2 separate regions of the Homo sapiens genome follow, and region 1 is linked to region 2. Evidence: promoter capture Hi-C in 16 types of primary human blood cells and fetal thymus (Javierre and others, 2016). All regions are on one chromosome and are shown on one strand. The core of a region is centred on a gene start or on the middle of the fragment in contact, and the rest is flanking DNA. Distances in the headings are between cores, read along the strand shown. Region 1 overlaps GCC2 (GRIP and coiled-coil domain containing 2). Region 2 holds the start of CCDC138 (coiled-coil domain containing 138).

Region 1 (3,915 bases), core at 510-3,009, 330 kb before region 2:
TATTATCTTTTCAATGTGCTGTTAGATTTGGTTTGCCAGTATTTTGCTGAGGATTTTTGCATTGGTGTTCATCAGGGATATTGGTTGTTGCTTTCTTTTTTTTTTTTTTTTTTTTGCTGTGTCCTTGTCTGGTTTTGGTATCAGGGTAGCACCAGCTTTCTAGAATGAGTTAGGGAAAATTGCCACCTCTTCAGTATTTTGGAGTAGTTTCAGGAGGATTGGTATTAGGTCTTTATACATTTGGTAGAATTCAGTGTGCATCCATCTGGTTCTGGGCTTTTCTTTGTGGGGAGACTTTTTATTACTGATTCGTTCTTGCTACTCATTATTAATTTGTTCAGGTTTTCTATTTTTTCCTGGATTTTTCTTTGATAGGTTGTATGTTTCCAGAAATTTATCCATTTCCTCTAGGTTTTCCAGTTTGTGGGTGCATAGCTGTTCATAATATTCTCTGATGGTCTATTTATTTCTATGAGAATGGTTGTAATGTCTCCTTTTTCATTTCTGATTTTATTTAGGTCTTCTTTTTTGTTGTTGTTAGCCTAACTAGTAGTTTATCAATTTTGTTTATCTTTTTGAAGAACAAGCTTTTCATTTTGTTGATCCTCTGCCTTTTTTAAAAGTCTCTATTTCATTTAGTTCTGCTTTGATCTTTATTAGTCGTTTCCTTCTGCTAATTTTGGGTTTGGCTTTGGCTTGTTCTTTCTGGTTCATTGAGGTAAATCATTAGATTGTTTGAAATCTTTTTACTTTTTGGATGTAGGCGTTTATTGCCATAAACTTAGTATTCATGTCCTGCTTTTGTTGTATCACACAGGTTTTGTGATACAAAAAATCACATAGGTTTTGTGATACAAAAGCACTGCTTTTGTTGTATCACATAGGTTTTGGTATGTTGTAGTTTCCATTTTCATTTGTTCCAAGAAATTTTTTGATTTTCATTTTAATTTCCTTATTGACCCATGGTCATTTGAGACCATGTTATTTAATTTTCATGTATTTCTGTCACTTCCAAAGTTCCCCTTGATACTGATTTCTAATATTCCATTGTAGTTCGAGAACATACTTGATATGATTTTGATTTTTAAAAATTTGTTGAAAATGATTTTGTGGCCTAACATATGGTCTTTTCTGAAGAATGAATGTTTCATGTGCTGTTGAGAAAAATATGTATTCTGCAGCTGTTGGATAAAATGTTCTACAAACATCTGTTAGGTCCATTTGGTCTAAAGTCTGGTTTAAATGCAATGTTTCTTTGTTAATTTTCTGTCTAGATGATCTGTCTAATGCTGAGAGTGGGGTGAGTTTGCCCAGTACGATTGCACTGGAGTCTCTCTCTCTCTAGATCTAGTAATAACTTGCTTTAGGAATCTGGGTGCTCCAGTGTCAGGTTCATATATGTTTAGAATTGTTACATCTTTTTGCTGGTTTGATTCCTTTGCCATTAGATAATGACCTTCTTTGTCTTTTTTTTTTTTTTTTTTTTTTTTTTTTTTTTTACTATTTTTGACTTAAAGTCTGTTTTATCTAAGTATAGCTACTCAGGAGCCTGAGGCAGAAGAATCGCTTGAACCTGGAATGCAGAGGTTGTAGTGAGCGGAGATCACGCCGCTGCCAGGCTGGAGTGCAGTGGCGCAATCTTGGCTCACTGCAGTCTCCGCCTCCTGGGTTCAAGTGATCCTGCCTCAGCCTCCCAAGTAGCTGGGATTATAGCCATCTGCTACCATGCCCAGCTAATTTTTTGCATTTTTGGTAGAGACAGGGTTTCACCATGTTGGCCAGGCTGGTCTTGAGCTCCTGACCTCAGGTGATCCACCCATCTCAGCTTTCCAAAGTGCTGGGATTACAAGCATGAGCCACCGTGCCTGGCCACTAAATAGATTTTCTAATCCTTTTGTTCTCTCTGCTCATTTGGTTTCTATTTGCATGGAATATCTTTTTCCATGCTTTAACTTTCAGTCTGTATGTCTCTTTACAGGGAAAGTGCATTTTTTGTGGGCAGCACGTAGTCGGATTATGTTTTTTATCCTTTTAGCCAGCCTGTATCTTTTAAGAGGAGAGCTTAACTCCATTTACATGCAGTTATTAATTATATGTGAGCCTTTTTTCTGTCATATTAACGGTTTTCTGGTTGCTTTATATATTCTTTGTTCCTTTCTCTTATTGTTTGTTATAGTGGTTTGCTGTCTTTTTATGGTAGTACCATTTGAGTCCTTTCTCTTCCTTATTTGTGTGTTGCTTTACCACTGAGTTTTCTATTTGTGTGTGTTTTTATGATCATAAATGTCATCCTTTCACTTTCAGGTTTAGGACTTCTTGAACATTTCTTGTAGGTCTGGTCTAGTAGTAATGAATTCCCTCAGCTTTTGCTCGTCTGGAGAAGACTTTATTTCTCCTTCATTTATGAAGGATAATTTTGCTGATTATAGTATCTTTGTGATATGGTTTGGATTTGTGTCCCTGCCCAAATTTCATGTCAAATTGTAATCTTCAGTGTTGGAGGTGAGGCCTAGTGGGAAGTGACTGGATCATGGGGATGAACATGAACTTCCTCCTTGCTTTTCTCATGATAGTGAGTGACTTCTCATGAGATGTGGTTGTTTAAAAGTGTGTAGCATTTTCGCCTTCACTCTCTTCCTCCTGCTCCGACCCTGTAAGATGTGCCTCCTTCTCCTTCCTCTTTGCCTTCTGCCATGATTGTAAGTTTCCTGAGGCCTCCCCAGCCATGCTTCCTATGCAGCTTGAAGAACCATGAGCCAATTTAATCTCTTTTCTTTATAAATTACCCAGGCTCAGATAGTTCTTTACAGCAGTGCAAGATCAGACTAATACACTTTGGCTGGGAGTTTTTCCTTCAGCATTTTGAATATATCATTCTCTTATCTCCAATGAATATATTATTCTCTTTTCTCTTCTCTTTTCTCTGGGTCTGTAAGCTTCCTACTGAGAAACCTGCTGTAAGTCTGATGGGGGTTCCTTTATAGGTGACTAGATGCTTTTCTCTTTGCTGAATTTTTTTTTTTCCTCTTTGCTGTTTTTAGAATTCTCTTTGTCTTTGATTTATGGCAGTGGACTATAAATATGCCATGGAGAATACCTTTTTGCATTGTATTTGTTTGGGGATACCTGGGCCTCCTATATCTGGATATCTACCTCTCTTGCTAGACTTGGTGAGTTTTCATGTATTATTTCACTATTTCACTAAATAGGTTTTCTGGTATTTTTTGGTTTTGTTTTGTTTTCGAGGCATAGTTTCACTCTTGTGGCCCAGGCTGGAGTGCAGTGGCGCAATCTTGGCTCACTGCACCCTCCACCTCCCGGGTTCAAGTGATCCTGCCTCAGCCTCCCAAGTAGCTGGGATTACAGCCATCTGCCACCATGCCCAGCTAATTTTTTGTATTTTTAGTAGAGACGGGGTTTCACCATGTTGGCCAGGCTGGTCTTGAGCTCAGGACCTCAGGTGATCCACCTGCCTCAGCTTCCCAAAGTTCTGGGATTGCAAGCATGAGCCACTGTGCCTGGCCACTAAATAGGTTTTCTTTTTTTTTTTCTTTTTCTTTTTTTTTTTTTTTGAGACAGAGTCTCGCTCTTTCGCCCAGGCCGGACTGCAGTGGCCTATCTCGGCTCACTGCAAGCTCCGCCTCCCGGGTTCACGCCATTCTCCTGCCTCAGCCTCCCGAGTAGCTGGGACTACAGGCGCCCACCACCGCCCCCAGCTAATTTTTTTTTTTTGTATTTTAGTAGAGACGGGGTTTCACCCTGTTAGCCAGGATGGTCTTGATCTCCTGACCTCGTGATCCGCCCGCCTCGGCCTCCCAAAGTGCTGGGATTACAGGCGTGAGCCACTGCACCCGGCCACTAAATAGGTTTTCTAATCCTTCTGTTCTCTCTTTGCTTTGAGATACCCCAGTAATT
Region 2 (3,594 bases), core at 948-3,447:
TTCAAACTTTTCTGTCATCTGTCTCTACTACCTCAGAAACTGCAGCTTGGTTCTGATGATAGAAATTGAATTTTTCCTTGTAGTTATTGTGATAAAGTATGAATATTTTTAGAAAGTCTATACCATGTTCTTTCGTTAAAGATTTGCTTTATACAAGATTGTTGCAGTACCTTTTTCTGGTAAATTTTGTAGCAGAAATAAAATGACAATTCCTAAGAGCCACTGACATCCAAAAAATTCATTACTTACGCTTCGGGTTCATTCTAAAGTAAGGAAGACAATTTAAAGGCAGTAAATTCAAACTGCTGCATAATTTCCAGAGCTCCTAGTTTCTCAAGTTTGATACACACCAAAAACGTATTTGGAAATGGCTTGTATCAAATGTTAGGCAAATTGCTAAAGAAAAGAGGATGTTCTTATTGGCCTACTCAATATGGAACTACAAAGAATCCAGGTAGAACACAAAATTTTGTATATTGCAATTATGAATATTGACTGTCTTCCACCCATCTGTGTTCTTTCGGGTGAAATTACCTCATTTTATTTAGTGAGGAAAGACAGGTTTATTCCCTGTTACATGGGGATTTGGAAATTGGGTATCCTAAAGCAAGTAACTGTTCAACCACCAGTCAAAAGAGGGGAGGGATGTTGTGCGAGTAATGAGTGATGGTATACCATCACCATTCCACTCGGCCACAAAGCCAGATACTTGAAATAAACCTACTCCAAATGTATCAGTTCAGTCTTGAACCATGGATTACATATGTTTACACTAAATATTTCAAATTGGCTTATTTGGAAATCTATGTAATATAAACTGATGTAAAGTGTGTTGTAACTTTTCAGCTGAGACAGTTGATGCCTTCGTCATGATTTTAGAATAAATTCTTAAGTTAATGCAAGTGCTTTTTAAGAGACTTTTTACAGATTTGTATGCTTTCCTAAAGCACTAAAGTTACAAATTAAAAAGCTTTAAAAACTTTGACCAAAAATTTGACAAAATGACATGTAAACTGACTTTTCCCGTATTAGTATTCCAAAGATGCTTAAAAGTGGCTTGTGGCATTTATGAGAAAGTCTTTGTGTCACATTTCAGGAAAGGACTTTGATTTCTCTTTGTTATTTAATCACTGATGTGGTCTAAACCCACGATAATATGTATCTTTCCTTTTAAACTGGATTTTATGTTGTCTCATTAAAATCTGCTTAAAGATAGAATAAAATTCATTATTTGTACATCTTAAGTGGTACTTTATGGCAAAAAGTATGGCCTAAGTAATTTTCAGATAATAACTGCTGAAGTACAGATTTTATAAAACTTGGGCATTTGGGAACTTTAATCCAGAGAATTTAGGAGTTGTTAGTCCAGAGATGCAGCTGACAGTCACAATTTAGAAAGTAAAAGATTACACCACTGTAATTTTATGAATGAGAAAAATGAAGTGGTTGTACAGTTCCCCTCAGTCAGTTTTGTTTAACATAGGTTTTCAGGTTGATGTATACTATGTACTATGGTTAGCACTGTTGTAGGTATTGGCAAAAGCTTTTTTCTTTTCAAAAAAAAAAAGTTTTTTTTCCAGGGTGCTTACATTCTAACTATTCTTTTTAATACCCTGTTATACCCCATATGGAACACAGGGAAAGTGAGGTAATCTGCAATGTCTATGCTCAGCTTTCCCTTTTTTTTTTTTTTTTTAACTTTAAGAGATGGGAGTCTTGCTATGTTACCCAAGATAGATGTAACTCTCAGGCTCAAAGCAATGCTCCCGCCTCAGCCTCCTTAGCAGCCGGGACTACACGCGCGCCACCACTCCCGGCTCAGATATACTCTTGGTTTTTCTTTTATATGGCAGTTAGCAAAGGTCACTTCTGATGGAACGACCGGTCTATGTGGTGAGCGCAACGCACACCAAACTTAACAGGTTAAATGGAGCTGGAGCGGAGCGCTGCAGGCAGGTGCGGGGCCTCGGTGCCCCTCAACCCGTGGCACCCAGGCAGCCGGGGCAGGACTATCGCGGGGAGATGCAATACTACTCAGTTACGAGGTGTGTAGTGCTAGCACGAGAAACTTGGAGGACGCGCTGACAAGCCGGGCTGCAGTCTCCGGGTCGCCCCGCCCCGCCCTTTCCCTGCCGCCGTGCGTGCCTCGGGGGGGCGGGGTCTGGCACGTCGTGACGCACTGCGGCCGCGTAGCGCCGCGGGTTTGATGAACGCGGTTCCCGGGGAGACTGGTACGGTTGCTGTGTGCTATGGAGCCGAGGGTCGTCAAGCCACCGGGGCAGGATTTAGTAGTGGAGAGTCTCAAAAGCCGCTACGGACTCGGGGGCAGCTGCCCCGACGAGGTGAAGCCGCCGCCTGAGGTCCGCGGGTGGGCTCCTGCTGCTGGGGGGCGGCCCGCTCCGTGCCCCGCGCAGCCGGCCTGGGGGCGCGCAGCGGCTCTGGTCCCGGCCCCGGCACTCCCGCCGTGGCTGCGGCTTGGGCCTCGTGGAAGCAGGCGGGAGGGGCGGGCGTTGCGCTGCGGGGGTGCGGGGGTGCCGCTTCACCTATGCCTCTGTGTTCCTGGTATACTGGGCATGGTGTGGTGTTGGAGAAAGTGCTATTCAGCTTTTTTTTGCAGTGATGTGAGTGGAGTTGTGAAAACAATTGAATTGCTTTTTAAAAGCGGCTTATTTCGAAATAATTTCGGACTTACTCAAAAGTTGCTGCAGTATTACCAAGAATTCCCTTGTACCCTCACTTGCATTCACAAATTAATATTTTGCCACATTGGCTTTACCATTCGTTCTCTCCCCTTCCCTCCCTACAAACGCATTTTTTCCCTTTGAACTATTTGAGGGTGATTTGCAGGCATCATGCCCCTTTACCTCTGAATAGAAATAACTTGTGCATTTTTCCTAAGCATAAGGACGTTGTCTTTTAATAACCACAGTAATATTTTCAGGAAATTTAGAATTGGTATAATATTTGGTAATCTAGAGTTCATAAGAAATTTCAGCAATTATCTCGATAAAACCTTTTATAGGAAAATTTTTTCCTAGTGCAGATCCGACCCAAGAACGAGCATTGATTGTATTTGATTGTCCTTTTTGTTGCCTTTAATCTGGAACAGGTTCACAGCCTTTGTTTTCTGTAAGGTTGTTTTTTTTTTGAGAAGTGTAAGAATTATTTATTGGATTGTTTCTCCGTTTGGGTTTATCTTATAGATGCTTCTTCGTTAGATTGATTATGCATTTTTGGCAGGAGCATGAGATGAGTGATGTGTGGCCTGCTGTGGGGAGGAACATGACGTTGGTTTGTCACATTATTGATGATATTAGTTTTGATCACTTGGTTAAGATGGTGTCTACAAGATTTCTCCACTCTAACCTTTGTAATTAATACATAATTTGTGGGGAAATATTTTGAGACAGTAAATTGATTTTTAGTATACAAATTAAATCTTTTCTTTTTTTTTTTAGTATGATTTTTCAAATTTTTATCAGTCTAAGTATAAGAGAAGAACTCTAACCTCCCCAGGTAAGCCGGTATTTTGTATATTTGGGGGTTTCAAAAATTTAATTTGAGGCTGGGCGCGGTGGCTCACGCCTGTAATCC

Evidence for each region. Contacts are between HindIII fragments. The CHiCAGO score rates a contact against its expected background, and 5 or more counts as called.
Region 1: a fragment that was not itself captured here is called in contact with the fragment with the promoter of CCDC138 in region 2 in 1 of 17 cell types (naive CD8 T cells); the score reaches 5.7 in naive CD8 T cells.

The regions. Positions count from the first base shown.
Region 1 is chr2:108,458,280-108,462,194 of GRCh38, forward strand. All of the region lies in intron 4 of GCC2 (GRIP and coiled-coil domain containing 2), which reads left to right. Among named protein-coding and RNA genes, the nearest start is that of GCC2, 11 kb to the left of the region's middle. RefSeq lists an enhancer at 2,695-2,764. The HindIII fragment of the contact is 2,349 bases long and covers 586-2,934 here.
Region 2 is chr2:108,784,574-108,788,167 of GRCh38, forward strand. It overlaps CCDC138 (coiled-coil domain containing 138), which reads left to right and starts at 2,198. Exons shown (of 15, transcript NM_144978.3): 1 at 2,198-2,342; 2 at 3,459-3,516. The coding sequence starts at 2,250. It overlaps RANBP2 (RAN binding protein 2), which reads left to right. Exons shown (of 29, transcript NM_006267.5): 29 at 1-1,236. RefSeq lists a silencer at 2,007-2,596. The HindIII fragment of the contact is 5,748 bases long and covers 1,542-3,594 here.